Regions from separate parts of the Homo sapiens genome. Here region 2 is linked to region 1. The links are contacts of gene promoters, found by promoter capture Hi-C in blood cells and fetal thymus (Javierre and others, 2016). All regions are on one chromosome and are shown on one strand. The core of a region is centred on a gene start or on the middle of the fragment in contact, and the rest is flanking DNA. Distances in the headings are between cores, read along the strand shown.

Evidence for each region. Contacts are between HindIII fragments. The CHiCAGO score rates a contact against its expected background, and 5 or more counts as called.
Region 2: a contact is called between the fragment with the promoter of PCDHGA7 here and a fragment that was not itself captured in region 1, in 1 of 17 cell types (M1 macrophages). The highest score is 5.3, in M1 macrophages.

The regions. Positions count from the first base shown.
Region 1 is chr5:140,887,417-140,894,842 of GRCh38, forward strand. All of the region lies in intron 1 of PCDHA1 (protocadherin alpha 1), which reads left to right. All of the region lies in intron 1 of PCDHA2 (protocadherin alpha 2), which reads left to right. The region is part of intron 1 of PCDHA3 (protocadherin alpha 3); the gene reads left to right. The region is part of intron 1 of PCDHA4 (protocadherin alpha 4); the gene reads left to right. It also overlaps PCDHA5, PCDHA6, PCDHA7, PCDHA8, PCDHA9 and PCDHA10, and 4 more genes. Among named protein-coding and RNA genes, the nearest start is that of PCDHA13, 9.0 kb to the left of the region's middle. The HindIII fragment of the contact is 2,103 bases long and covers 2,580-4,682 here.
Region 2 is chr5:141,379,762-141,387,187 of GRCh38, forward strand. It overlaps PCDHGA7 (protocadherin gamma subfamily A, 7), which reads left to right and starts at 2,981. Exons shown (of 4, transcript NM_018920.4): 1 at 2,981-5,562. The coding sequence starts at 3,139. The region is part of intron 1 of PCDHGA1 (protocadherin gamma subfamily A, 1); the gene reads left to right. The region is part of intron 1 of PCDHGA2 (protocadherin gamma subfamily A, 2); the gene reads left to right. All of the region lies in intron 1 of PCDHGA3 (protocadherin gamma subfamily A, 3), which reads left to right. It also overlaps PCDHGB1, PCDHGA4, PCDHGB2, PCDHGA5, PCDHGB3 and PCDHGA6, and 1 more gene. The HindIII fragment of the contact is 6,225 bases long and covers 1,424-7,426 here.

The DNA of each region.
Region 1 (7,426 bases), core at 2,381-4,880:
GAAAAAGTATTTTCACTGGGCATAGTTGACAGTTTTTTAAAAGATATAATTCAGTTGTCTTCTGGCTTGCATAGTTTCTAATAAGATGTTTGCTTTTTTATATATGAGTCTTCCTCTCCCCACCCCTCATGGTTACTGTTAAAACTTTTCTTTTTATCCTGACTTTTGCAGATTGATTGTGATGTGCTTTAGTATGGTTTTCTTTATGTTAGTCTGTTGGGGTTTGTTGATATTCTTGGATCTGTGGATTTATCATTTTCATCAAATTCAGGAAAAAATCAACCATACTTCTTCTAATAGTTTTTTCTTTCCTTCCATCCTTTCTGAGACTCCAGTAACACATATGTTACAATGACACAGGTCATTGAAGCGTTCTTTATTTTTGTCCATTTCTTTCTCTGTGCCTCATTTTGAATATCTTTTATTGACATATTTTCCAAGTTCACTAATTTTTCCTTTTGTAGTATCATATCTGTTAATCCTAAACAGTGTATTCTTCATTTCAGAGACCATATTTATTTCTTATCTGTATAAGATTCTTTTTGTCTCTTTTAAAATTTATTTTACATGTCTCCACCGAATAGTCATCTTTTTATCTATATGTTTGAGCATATTAGTACATGTATAATAGATGTTTTAACTTTCTTGTCTGCTAATTTCAACATTTTTGTCCTTAGTTTGCTTCTTTTAATCTATCTTCTTCTATGGATATATTTTCTTGCTGTTTTGCATGACTGGTAATCTCTAATAAGATGCTAGACATTGTGAATTTTACATTGTCGGATGCTGGATTTTGTGTGTGTGTGCATGTGTGTGCGTGTTCCTTTAAAGCAGTAGTTCTTGATAAGAAACAGTTTTGTCCCCTCTACCCCCTACCCAGGAGATAATTTGGCAATGCCTGGATACATTTTTGGTTATTACAACTAGGGAATTGCTACTGGCATCTAATAATGGAGCTCTGAGATGCTGCTAAACACCATCCAATTGCTGCCAAACATCCTACCGTGCACAGGACAGCCGCCCAACAATAAAGAATTAGCTCAAAATGTCAGTAGTTCCACTGTTGAGAAACTCTGCTTTAAAGAGTCTTGGACTTAGTTCTGACGTGAAGTTAAGTTGCTCAGTACCAATTTATTCCTTTCAAGGCTTCATTTTAAGATTTGTTAGTACACATTCAGAGCAGCTTTTAGTGTAGCACTAATTCGGCCTTCTATTACAGCAATACTTTCCTGAGGACACCACCTAATGCCCTGTGCATTAAGAGGTCTCTCTTCTCTGATTGGTAGGAATGTGAAATATTTCCAGCCCTTTGTGAGCTCTAGGAATTATTCTACCCACTTTTTTTTTTAATTTTGAAGGGATAGCCTGATCTGGGGAGGTTGATCAGTGATCTGTGATCTGTGATCACATCACTCCACTGCAGCCTGGTGACAGAGTGAGACCATGTCTCAACATAAAAATTAAAACATTAGAATTGAGGTTTAATGTTATCAAATATTTTATCTGCATCTTTTGAGGGAGGTATAAATTTTTTCTTTGGCAATGTTAATGTGTTGAATTTATGATTTATGATTTTCTTATGGCAAACCAACCTCTACTTCCTTGGATAACCGTAATTTGATTATAATTTATAATCCTTTTAATATACTACTTATTTTGTTAAATTTTCAAAACAATTTTTTCATCTTTATTCCAGGTGATACTGATATGTCCTAGTTTTTCTTCCTAATTTCTTCTTTGTTAAGTATTCAAGTTATAAATAAGAATCTAGCATAACTTGAATACTTAACAAAGAAGAATAGTCTTTGAAAACTTCCAGAAAATTTTCTGTTTCCTGTAAAAGTTTGTATAATCTTTGAATTACTTCTTATTTGATTGGAGAACTCACTGTTGAAGTTATCTGTATCAGGATTTTGATTGGTGGGAATATTTCTGATTACTGACTCAATTTTAATAGTATAAGGACCATTCAGAGTTTAATTTACTCGAGTCAGTTACGTAGATAATATTTTTTCAGGTATTTTCCTGTTTAATCTAAATTTTCAGTTATATGCTCATACTTTCTACAGAATCTATAGTGATATTTCCCTTTCCATTCTTGATATTATTTTTGCTTCCTGTCTAATTTACTTTTCTTCAGAATTCTGCTTTCTGATTTTTGTTTTTGCTTTGAAATATTTTTATATTAATTATACTGATTCATTTCTCTTCTTTTCATTTGTGTTTGCAGGAGATGTCCTCTTCCCAGCCTTTTATTTTAAACCTTTTAGTATTATGGGCATATTCCACAAGTTCTTTGCTACTGTCTCACTGAGTAGCAGAGTCTAATTTTTCTTTCCTTGAACTTTGACTGGTCTTAATATTGGAAGTAACATTCTGGGATTTATGAAGTCAGGTCATAAGAAGTCTTACAGTATGCTTTGGTCTCTGAGAATATTTGTTTTGGGGGAAGCCTGCCACCATGTAAGAATTCTGACTACCTTGAGATTGTCATACTGTAAAGAAGCTCAAGCTGGACTTGTGAGAAGCCAAATGGATAGAAAAATTACTATCCAGTCTCCAGTTGTCTTAGCTTTCCAAGCTTAGGTGCCAGAAAAATGTAGAAGGCTTCAGGTGACTGTAGTGTGTTGGAGCTGGCTCTTTTACTGGCTTATGAGAACTGATAATGCAAATTTATTCCCAACTCTGGATTCAATGATGTCACTTTGGTAGCTTGAAATTGGCCATGGTAGGAGTATTTCTGCCACAGAAATAGGCAAATGCTACAAAACAGAGTTTTTTGTTTTTCTTTTTTCCCAGAGACCTAGTTGTTAAGCATTTACCAGTACACTACTGCACCTGATTGCAAGCAAGAACCACTCAGTTGAGTCAGAACCAGGAGAGGTAATATTAAGTTGTTTTAAGATATTAGGTAGTTGGGATGGTTTACTATATAGCAATGGATAACCTGAACAAGTACTCTTTCTTAGATAATCTATAAATTTTAACTTGAATATTTATTTAGTTTATATTTACAATACCTAGTGATATCTTTAGGCACAAATATTTCAATTTTTTGTGCGTTATTTTTGTCTCACCATTTTTATGTCTCTATTTCCTTCCTTTGTTGATCTTCTTTTGAAATGACTGAGTACTTTTTATTGTTCCATTTCCTTCTGTATTATTTGGAAGCCCTTTTCCGAATAGCTAGTGCTTACCCTAGAAAATTAAGCATGTATCCTTGATATATCAAAATCAAAAGTTAACTGAAACCCTTCCTCCTTCTGGGAAATGCAGGGACCTTACATTTTTAAAATCTTTTTAATCCCTTTTGACTTATATACTATTTCTGTCATGCTTTAAAAATATTTTAAAACCCCATAAGATATTAGTATTATTTTATACAATCAACATTGTTTTAAATGTACTTACATATTTACCAGTTTTGTTTCTCTTCCTTACTTCTTGCCCCTCTGACCTTTCATCAGGGATTATTGTCTTTCCATGTTAGAATAATTTGAGAGTTTCCTTTAGTCCAAAGATGCTGGTGAGGAATGATTTCAGGTTTTGTTTTTCTGAAAATGTCTTTATTTCATCATAATTATTGAAAAGCATTTTTTCTGAGGGTATAATCTTAGGTGTGACCCCCACAGCACATAGTAAATATTATTCCAGTGTCTACTGGTTTCCATTGTTGCTGTCAAGAATTTAGCTGTCAATCTAAATGTCATTCCTTTAAAGGTATTCTGTTTATTTTCCTTTGGCTGCTTTTCAGATTTTCTGTGTGTCTGATATTTTGCAGTTTTACCATGCTGTGTCTTTATAATCATCCTGTTCTGGATTCAGTAGGATTTTTTTTAATTTTTAATTTTTCCGTAAGTTATTGGGGGTACAGGTGGTATTTGATTACATGAGTAAGTTCTTTGGTGGTGATTTGTGAGATTTTGGTGCATCCATCACCTGAGCAGTATACATTGCACCATATTTGCAATCTTTTATCCCTCGCCACCCCCCACTCTTGCCCCCAAGTCCCCAACGTCCATTGTATAGGATTTTTGAATTTGTGAATTAATGCCTTTACATCACTTTGAGCATATCCTCAGCTATAATGTTCTCCAATGTTGCTTCTGTTCCATTGTATTTCTATAGTATTATTTTAGTACTCTAATTAAACATATTTTAATCTTATTACTCTATCCCATCTATTTCTACCTTTTATTTTAACACCTTTTGCTCTTTGGGCTTTATTGTGGATAGTTCACCCACCTTAAAGTTTAATAATTCTCTCTTCTTGCTGTTGTCTGAATTTGTACCCCCAAATTCATGTGTTGAAAATTCAATCCCTTATACAACAGTGTTGGGAGGTGGGGAATTTCAGGAAATGTTTAGATTATGAGGGATCTGCCCTCATGAATAAATTAACGGCACTGTAAAAGGACTTGATGGAAGGAGCCTGTCCCTCTCTTATGCTTTTGGCTCTGTCATGTGACGATGCAGCAAGAAGATCTTCACCAGATGCTGGTGCCTTGATCTTGGACTTCCCCTAGGCTCCAGAATTGTGAGAAGTAAATTTCCGTTCTCATAAATTACTCAGTCTGTGGCATTCTGTTATAGCAGCACAAATGGTCTAAGATACTTTTATTTATTCTTTTTCAAATTTATTGTTACTTTGTATAATTTCTAGTTTCCTCTCGAAACTTTCAAGCTTGGCATTTATATCTGGAACACAATAAGCTCATGGTTTTAGCGTCTATTTCTGATATGTCCAGTAACTGGGATCCTCATGGGTCTATTCCTGTGGTGTGTTTTAAAATTGTATCTTTATGGTGTTTTGTCTCCACATAAACCTGGTTATCTTTGATTTTGTGCTGAAAGTTGTATTAAACACTTCTTCCTGGAAATAATTTGGGGCTTATAACATTTTCTTTCTCCAGAATGGATTTTAATTGACTTTTGCCAGGCATCTTGGGGCACTAGCAATCATGGGTAATCTTAATCTATTTCAAGCTTCAGGTATTCTAGATAAAACCTCATTATCTAAAATTTACATGTATTCTTTAAGTACGGTTATTCAGTTTCCTAGCCAAACATGAGAGATTGTTTAAGAAGTTCCACCATGACTGGTAGACTCAGGATTCTGACTTTTGTTTCTCTAGTCCTTGGAGACTGTCAAAAGTATATCTCAGTATTCATTCACCTATTTTTTTCCTTTTATTTCCAGTTGGTACATAATAATTGTACATATTTATAGGATACAGAGTGACATTTTGATACATATATACAATGTATAATAATAAAATCAGGGTAATTAGCATATTCATAATCTCAAACATTTACCATTTTTGCATGGTGAACATTTAAAATCCACTCTTCTAGCTTCTTGAAAATATGTAAGAAATTATAGTTAACCATATTTATCCTACAGTGCTACAGTGCTGCAAAACACCACAACCCATTCCTCCTGTGTAGCTATAATTTCGTATCCATTAACCAACCTTTCCCCATCCTCCTTTTCCTTCACCCTTCCCAGCCTCTGATAAGCACAATACTACTTCCATGAGCTCAATAAAATTTTGTAGCTGCCGTATAAGTGAGAACATGTATTTATTTTTCTGTGCCTGACTTATTTCACTTAACATATGCCCTCCAGGCTCAGCCATACTGCCATGAATAACAGGATTTCATTCTTTTTTATGGCTGGATAATATTCCGTTGTGCATATACACCACATTTTCTTTATCCACTCATCTGTTGATGGATATTGAGGTTGATTCCACATAGTAGCTATTGTGAATAGTGCTGCAGTAAGTATGGGAGGTGCAGGTATCACTTTGACATACTGGTTTCCTTTTCTTTGGATAAATGCCCAATAGTGGAATTGCTGGATGATATGGTAGTTCTATTTGTAGTTTTTTGAGGGACTCCCATACTGTTTTCCTTAGTGGCAGTGCTAATTTACATGCCCACCAACAGCATTTATGGGACAGTGGCTCATGCCTGTAATCCCAGCACTTAGGGAGGCAGAGGCAGGAAGATCGCTTGAAGCCAGGAGTTCAAGACCAGCCTGGGCAACATAGCAAGACCCTGTTCTTCACAAAAAAGAAAAAAAAAGCAGTTGTAGAACTCCTTTAAGTATTTCTTGTAGGACTTATCTAGTTGTAGTGTACTTCCTCAGTTTTTGCTTGTTTGGGAAATACTTTATTTCTCCTTCATTTCTGAAGTATAGCTCTGCTTGGTATAGTATTTTTGGCTGATAGTTTTAAAAAATTTCAGCACTTTGGATATATCATCTCATTCTATCCTAGCCTGTAAAGCTTCTGCTGAGAAATCTGCTGTTAGTCTGATGGGAATTTTCTTATAGGTGACTTGTCACTTTTCTTTTACCGTTTTTAGAATTCCCTCCTTGTCTTGAGTCTGGTACCGTAGACTACTCAGCCATCCTGATGCCCTACCTCTTGTATAGAAACAACCCAGATCCAAAGTGGCCAGAAAGTTACTTTACCTTCTGAATTTGTGGTCTTTTTCAGAATCTCTACCTGTTAATTCTGCATGACTTTATTAGTCATTAGATACTTTTATAATTTTAAAATATCTCCAATTGTATGGTTGGTTCAAATTACCAGTTCTGCATACTGGTAATGTAAGTCCTCTGTTGAATTGATTTTTAAATACATTTATTTTATTCCAGTATCTTCTAGCTCCTGGTGTTGCAGATGAGAAGTTTCAAATAACTTGAAATAATTCCCTTCTATGTAATTATCCCTGATTTTGACTTTCTTTCCATAGTTATATATTTTTTCTATGCTATTATATTCTCATTTTAAAGATGTTGAATGACAATGTAATTTTCTTTTCTTTACAAGTGGTAGCTTATTTACAAGTATTTTTGAAGTTTATTTTCCTGGAAAGTTTTCTTAAATTATAGATTTTAGTATTTCTTCTGTTTTATTACTTCAGATTTCTTCTTCAATGGCTCCAATTATATTTGTATTAGATATTCTTTGCTTTTCTTTTGTAGCTAACACTCCTAAATCCTACCTAGCTCTTTTTTAAAAAATATTTTACTTTTTATTCTTGTTTTCATCTTATAGTTTTCTTTAGGCATTATCCATAGTGTTTATATGCTGTTATGTGCCTTCTGGTTTAGTGTTTACTTCTGAAAAAATTATTTTCCTTTTTTTTAATATTTTACTGAGTTTTCTCATCTCTCTTTTCAAAGCTTTTCTTCTCCAATCATATCATTACTGAGTCTCTCTAATTCTGATTTGTGTATTCTTGCATAGCTTTTCATTATTTTCTAAAAATGTTTAAGTTGTTTTCAAATATTACGTAGCAATTTGTGGAATTTTTTTTCTTGTGTGTATTTATTTCCTTTAGTGTAATTATTTGTCCTCTCCTTTAAAAATAATTTTATATCAGATTTGCCCATAATCCTTTTCTTATGCTC
Region 2 (7,426 bases), core at 1,731-4,230, 490 kb after region 1:
AATACAGATCATTAATAATAAGATAGGCTATCTGAGGTTTTGAGAGTTCAGTATAGAATTTTGAAGCATCAGGAAAAAAAACTACCAAATTATTGTCTTATTCTTATTTTATGGTCTGTGAAAGCCTCTTTTTTTTTTTTTTTTTTTTTTTTTTTTTTGTCAGAGTCTTGCTCTGTCTCCCAGGCTGGAATGCAGTGGTGTGATCTCTGCTCACTGCAACTTCCTCCTCCTGGGTTCAAGCGATTCTCCTGCCTCAGCCTCCCAAGTAGCTGGGATTACAGGTGCATGCCACCATGCCTAGCTAATTTTCATACTTTTAGTAGAGATGGGGTTTTACCATGATGGCCAGGCTGGTCTCAAACTCCTGACCTTAAGTGATCCACCCGCCTCAGCCTCTCAAAGGGCTGGGATTACAGGCATGAGCCACTGAGCCCGGCCTGAAAGGCATTCATTTCTGATCAGGCTTCTGTTGAGGTGGCAATTGTCAAAGGGGAAGGAGTAAAATCTCAGAGGAGAAACATTGGAAGATACCTATATCTTTGCTTGAGAATGAAAATCTAAATGGAACTTCAAAGAACTGTTTTGTTGTTTGTTTTTTAGAAAAAAAAGTCCCAAAAAAGAAAAGAGAGAAGATAATCAATTCGATGCCCAGGAAGCCAAATAGACTTTACATAGAATTCTTTTTAATGCAACCAAACAAATGGTCAGGATTCTTCCCAATATCTCAGTCAACAATAATATACACTCTTTAAACTATGAAATGATTTCAATTTGATACAATGAGCTTATGTTAGATTTTATTAAACATATCTTGGCGGTCTAGTAAAGATCTTTAATATTTAATTTTATGATGTTCGATAACTTAGAAAATGTGAATGCTAGAGACAATGAAGCCATTTACTCCATAGGGTATGTATGCTTTGTGTTCGGAGTAGTCTATAATTTAATTTAACTAGCTCTTATTTCCTTTTCTCCAAAGAAGGTACCAAGACACTATAAATTAATTGAGACTTTTTTAAAACAGTAGAATAAGAAACAAATGTGAGATGAAACTATGAATTTTGAGGCATCAGGTAAAAATGGATCAAGACATTGAGAGCTATAACCTCCAAACATGAAAGTTTGTTTGAAAATATCTACAAGTGCTTACATTGTTTAATAATCATACACTTTGCTTGCCTCAACAAGAAGTTCAAAAGTACTATTAAACAAATAGAATTTAACTCCAGTTTACAGAATTCATCTATAATACCTCTATTAGTTCCTTTAAACAAAATTTATCTACTTTGTGAATGCAAAGATAACTATGGATTATTTTGATAGATCAAAACAGAATGTCCTTCAAAGTGTTCCCTGTATTCTGGAGCAATGCCACCAGAAAGCAGAAATAGGTTACTTAGGAGCCTCCCACAAAACGAAGTTAAGCTTTCTTAGTGTTAGTTCTGGATTCTCCTCCTGGTTCCACCAACTACTCTCCAGGACCTAGAAGAATTTACAAACCAAGACTGTTTCTTGCCAGGTCTTTATTCCAGAGCAGGTCATTCTCTTTTATTCTGCAACTATGTGAAAGGAGCTTTCTTTTCTTTCTGCTAGCAGAGGGTAGCCTCGGATCCATCAATAATTTAGTTTTACTCTATCAACATCAGTGGAGAGACGAGTACCTCTAAGGATCCTGTCAGGACAGTCCTGCATTTTGCTCAAATGCTGTCTAGAGATCCCTGTTTTCTCAATTACACTAGAATAGAGTAGGATGAAGATTTGAATTGCATACTAGGATGAAGACTTGAATTGAATTGCATAATGAAAAGAATCAGCCAATCCATTATCCAGTTTCTTATGAATTCACAGCCCAGTAGGATCTCTGCAGATTTCTGCCTTCTGTAGAAAATGGGTTGCTTCTATAGCTGATTGCTGCAGCCAAGACAAACAACGATTTCTTTCTTTTTTTCTCACAAGACTGGGAGTGAGAATATTTGGATTCCGACATTGTTCTACTACTATATAATCAATAATCAGGAACAAGGCAAGGCAATTCCCTCTTTCTTTCTTTCTTTCTTTCTTCTTCTTTTTTTTTTTTTTTTTTTTTTGGCAGAGTTTTGCTCTTGTTGTCCAGGCTGGAGTGCAATGGTGTGATCTCGGCTCACCACAACCTCCACCTCCCGGGTTCAAGCGATTTTCCTGCCTCAGCCTCCTGAGTAGCTGGGATTACAGGCGCGCGCCACCACGCCCGGATAATTTTGTATTTTTAGTAGAGACGGGGTTTCTCCATGTTGGTCAGGCTGGTCTCAAGCTCCCGACCTCAGGTGATCCGCCCGCCTCGGCCTCACAAAGTGTGGGATTACAGGCGTGAGCAACAGCACCTGGCCCCCCCTCTCATTTTTTAAACGGTTAAAATGAAGGTGTTAGACCGTCTCTAAGGTTCTATACAATCAAAAATTTATTAAAATAGGTCTATATATTTTACAACAATTTTGACTTTCTGAATCTTGCATCATGGTGTCTAGAACATATGTGTTCAATTAATACTGAATTAATTAAAATTTATATACACTGATGTAAATATTTTCTAAGTAAAATCTTTCATATGTATTTAAATAAAATTTACCTTTTTGCCTTCAATAACTGATTTTCCCATGTGCAATAACGTGTGAGTCAGTGCCCAAAAGAGTCACTTGAAAGTTGCAAGGCAAAGCAGTTTTTTAAAAATTATCTAAGATTATCAAACACCGGTCCATGAACACTGTTGCATTAATTCAGTGTCTTAAAATGGATTTTTAATTATCAGGGATATCTAGAGCAAAGAAATCTAACAGGGAAATTTTGAAAGATGAAACAATTTTCTATGAAATCAGTGTATTGTGTGCATCAATGTGGTGCAGTAACTTAGTAAGGACTCACAGCGCCGCTGTTCACCAACCAGGGAAAAATGGTGCGAGAGATCCCACAGAAACCACCGAGTTTTACAGCACAGAGAAACGACAGATTGCGATAAGCCCTCTTCCAGGCTGCACTAAACTCAAGCCTCTATCCTGCTGGATTCTGAGCTCCCCTTCCTAAGACAGAGGGGTCCACCCGGATACACCCGCATTCTGAAGCACTTCCCGAGATCGGCGCCTAAGCAAGAGAAGCAGGACGACTATGGCGGCTCAGCCGAGGGGCGGGGACTACAGAGGATTCTTCCTGCTCTCCATCCTCCTGGGGACCCCCTGGGAAGCCTGGGCAGGACGTATTCTCTACTCCGTGTCGGAGGAGACGGACAAAGGGTCCTTTGTGGGAGACATCGCCAAGGACCTGGGGCTGGAGCCCCGGGAGCTGGCGGAGCGCGGAGTCCGCATCATCTCCAGAGGTAGGACGCAGCTTTTCGCCCTGAACCAGCGCAGCGGCAGCTTGGTCACTGCGGGCAGGATAGACCGGGAAGAGATCTGCGCTCAGAGTGCGCGGTGTCTGGTAAACTTTAACATCCTGATGGAAGATAAAATGAATCTTTACCCTATAGACGTGGAAATAATAGATATTAATGACAACGTTCCAAGATTCTTGACGGAAGAAATAAATGTAAAAATAATGGAGAATACAGCTCCTGGGGTTCGGTTTCCGTTAAGCGAGGCTGGGGATCCAGATGTGGGCACGAACTCCCTCCAGAGTTACCAGCTCAGCCCCAATCGCCACTTCTCCCTGGCTGTGCAAAGTGGAGACGATGAAACTAAGTACCCGGAACTGGTGCTGGAGCGGGTGCTGGACCGGGAGGAAGAGCGGGTTCACCACCTGGTCCTCACAGCCTCTGATGGCGGCGACCCGCCCCGATCCAGCACCGCCCACATCCAGGTGACAGTGGTGGATGTGAATGACCACACGCCTGTCTTCTCTCTGCCTCAGTACCAAGTAACTGTCCCCGAGAATGTGCCAGTGGGTACAAGACTGCTCACGGTACATGCTATCGACCTGGACGAGGGAGTCAATGGGGAAGTGACATATTCTTTTCGGAAAATAACTCCTAAACTTCCAAAGATGTTTCATCTGAACTCGCTTACAGGAGAAATATCAACTTTAGAAGGATTAGATTATGAAGAAACTGCCTTCTATGAAATGGAGGTTCAGGCTCAAGATGGTCCTGGTAGTCTGACAAAGGCAAAAGTACTGATCACAGTTTTAGATGTAAATGATAATGCTCCAGAAGTGACTATGACGTCTTTAAGTAGCTCAATCCCTGAAGACACACCTCTTGGGACAGTCATTGCTCTTTTCTACCTACAAGACAGAGATTCTGGAAAGAATGGTGAGGTGACCTGCACCATTCCAGAAAACCTACCTTTTAAATTAGAAAAATCAATAGATAATTATTATAGATTGGTCACAACCAAAAACTTGGACCGGGAAACACTCTCTTTGTATAACATCACACTGAAAGCCACAGATGGTGGAACTCCTCCCTTGTCCAGGGAAACTCACATATTCATGCAGGTGGCAGACACCAACGATAACCCACCCACCTTCCCCCACTCATCCTACTCAGTCTACATCGCTGAGAACAACCCCAGAGGGGCCTCCATTTTCTTAGTGACTGCACAGGACCACGACAGTGAGGATAATGCCCAGATCACTTATTCCTTGGCCGAAGACACCATCCAGGGGGCTCCAGTGTCCTCCTATGTCTCCATAAACTCTGACACTGGAGTCCTGTACGCGCTGCAATCCTTTGATTATGAGCAGTTGAGAGAACTACAACTAAGAGTGACTGCACATGACAGCGGGGACCCGCCTCTCAGCAGCAACATGTCACTGAGCCTGTTCGTGCTGGACCAGAATGACAACCCGCCCGAGATCCTGTACCCGGCCCTCCCCACAGATGGTTCTACTGGCATGGAGCTGGCACCCCGCTCCGCAGAGCCCGGCTACCTGGTGACCAAGGTGGTGGCGGTGGACAAAGATTCAGGCCAGAACGCCTGGCTGTCATACCTCCTGCTTAAGGCCAGCGAGCCAGGACTCTTTGCGGTTGGGCTGTACACGGGCGAGGTGCGCACGGCTCGGGCCCTGCTGGACAGAGATGCCCTCAAGCAGAGCCTCGTGGTGGCCGTCCAGGACCACGGTCAGCCTCCTCTGTCAGCCACCGTCACACTCACCGTGGCTGTGGCTGACAGCATCCCCGAAGTCTTGGCCGACCTGGGCAGCCTTGAGCCCTCCGACGGTCCTTACAACTATGACCTCACGTTGTACCTGGTGGTGGCGGTGGCCACAGTCTCCTGCGTCTTCCTAGCCTTCGTCCTCGTACTGCTGGCGCTCAGGCTGCGGCGCTGGCACAAGTCACGCCTGCTGCAGGCTTCAGAAGGTGGCTTGGCGAACGTGCCCACCTCGCACTTTGTGGGCATGGACGGGGTGCAGGCTTTCCTGCAGACCTATTCCCATGAGGTCTCCCTCACCGCGGACTCTCGGAAGAGTCACCTGATCTTCCCCCAGCCCAACTATGTAGACATGCTCATCAGCCAGGAGAGCTGTGAGAAAAATGATTCTTTGCTAACATCCGTAGATTTTCAGGAATGTAAAGAAAACCTGCCAAGTATTCAGGTGAGCCCAGCCCTTCCTTTATTTCCATGAGGAATTTATTTGCATGATATTTCTCTATTATTTTGCAAAACAAATGTTTTGAAAATAGGGATTTAAAAAACTTTATAGAGGTAAAAATGAGTTTACCAGTTTCCTTCAGTGGTGACACTTTAATATAGAACACATAGGATATAGTATTTCTTTAGTGAAAGCCTATGGACAAGATTATGAATATGTGGACTATCACATTTTATAATTTCCACCTACTTTCCAATCTATGTTCCAACCTACTTTCTTAACTCATATATTTTATACATTGGAATGAATCGAGTCTTTCATATTGCACAAGGTTAGCAGGAATAAAACACACCTCAGCTGTCTTCTCAGGATTCTCTTTAGCATTCAAATATGTAAAAGGTTCTGAAAGATTTCTTCCATGTGAAGATTTTTTTCTGTGGCTGATTCTGCCTCCATGTACCTCAGCTTGGTGGTCCTAAAAAATCTTGATTGCTTCTTGACCTATTTACAGTATAATCATTTATTAATGGGGTGGTAGTAGAAGGTTGGATTTATGCCTAAAGAATGAAATGTGTGTGTATCACACTTCACTAAGATCTATATCAAAGACAGACATCAAGTCTAATGCCACACTAAAGGCCATCGGACAAAACCAATAAAATATGTCAAATAAAATGTCATTTTAAGTGTTGTAATTGGCATTTGTGACATAGGCAATTACATGTTTTAACAGAGAATTCCAGTATGTTGTTTTAGTGGTACAGCCAGATGAAGTGTGTCTGTGGGCTATCAAAGTGGGAGATTGGGGATACTGGCTTTGTTTCAACTGTCTCACGTACTCAAACCTTAGACCATCTTATGTACACAGATCCTAGACCAGTAGTTGATTTTATTTATTAGGTCTACTGAAAAATTCAGTTGGAAATAACCCAATCTGGGATTAACTACTTCCATATTCTTTTGTATAACATTTTAGTAAAGCTCAGTATATCAAGTGATTGTCATCCAGAAGGGGTGGATGACAAGGTAATCTTGATTCCAGAGACCTTTGAGTATTAATTAAAAACACACTTTTAGCCAGGTATGGTGTTGCAAGCTGTAGCCCACCTGCATGGGAGGCTGAGGCAAGAGGACAGCTTGAACCCAAGAATTGGAGGCCCACCTAGATAATATAACAAGACTCTGTCTCTTCAAAAAAAGACTCTTTTTAGACTAGTGTTGTATTTGGTAGTATTTTGCACATGATAGACTCTGTACAATAGTGTGGGGGATACATTTTTTTTTTTTGACATGGAGTCTCGCTCTGTCACCCAGGCTGGATACATTTTACAAGTTCTGCAGTGTTCACATTTCAGATGTACAATCACTTGGGGTAGAAGACAATGTTGCTGACACCAACAATGTTACTGAGGGAAGATCCTATGGCAGAACTACGGTTATAAGGTATTTTGTAAAAGAAAATCTCCTGACCAAAATTTATTAGATGCATAAAATTGTTTTTAAGCAATGGAGAGACATAATCACTAAACTCAGTGAGCTATTGCAATCAAACTTTCCAGGGATTGTTTCCTTCAATTCAGAGGTCACCAAGGAATGTAAAATAAGTGCAGAGGTAGGAAGCAGTGCTTCAGTGCAGCAGATCTCAGTGACTTTGTGTTTTGAGGCTATGTATTATCCCCCTGATAACTTTGAAGATGAATGTTGTATTTCATAACCAGTAAAATAATTGTGTAATGAGGAGAGGAGTAGGCTACTGCCTGTGATCATCGAAATGAGAATCACATAATATTCCTGTAATGAAATCACTGAAACTATTGGGAAGGGGGTGTATTTGAAGATAAGTATAAATTGCACCTTCTAAAAGGCA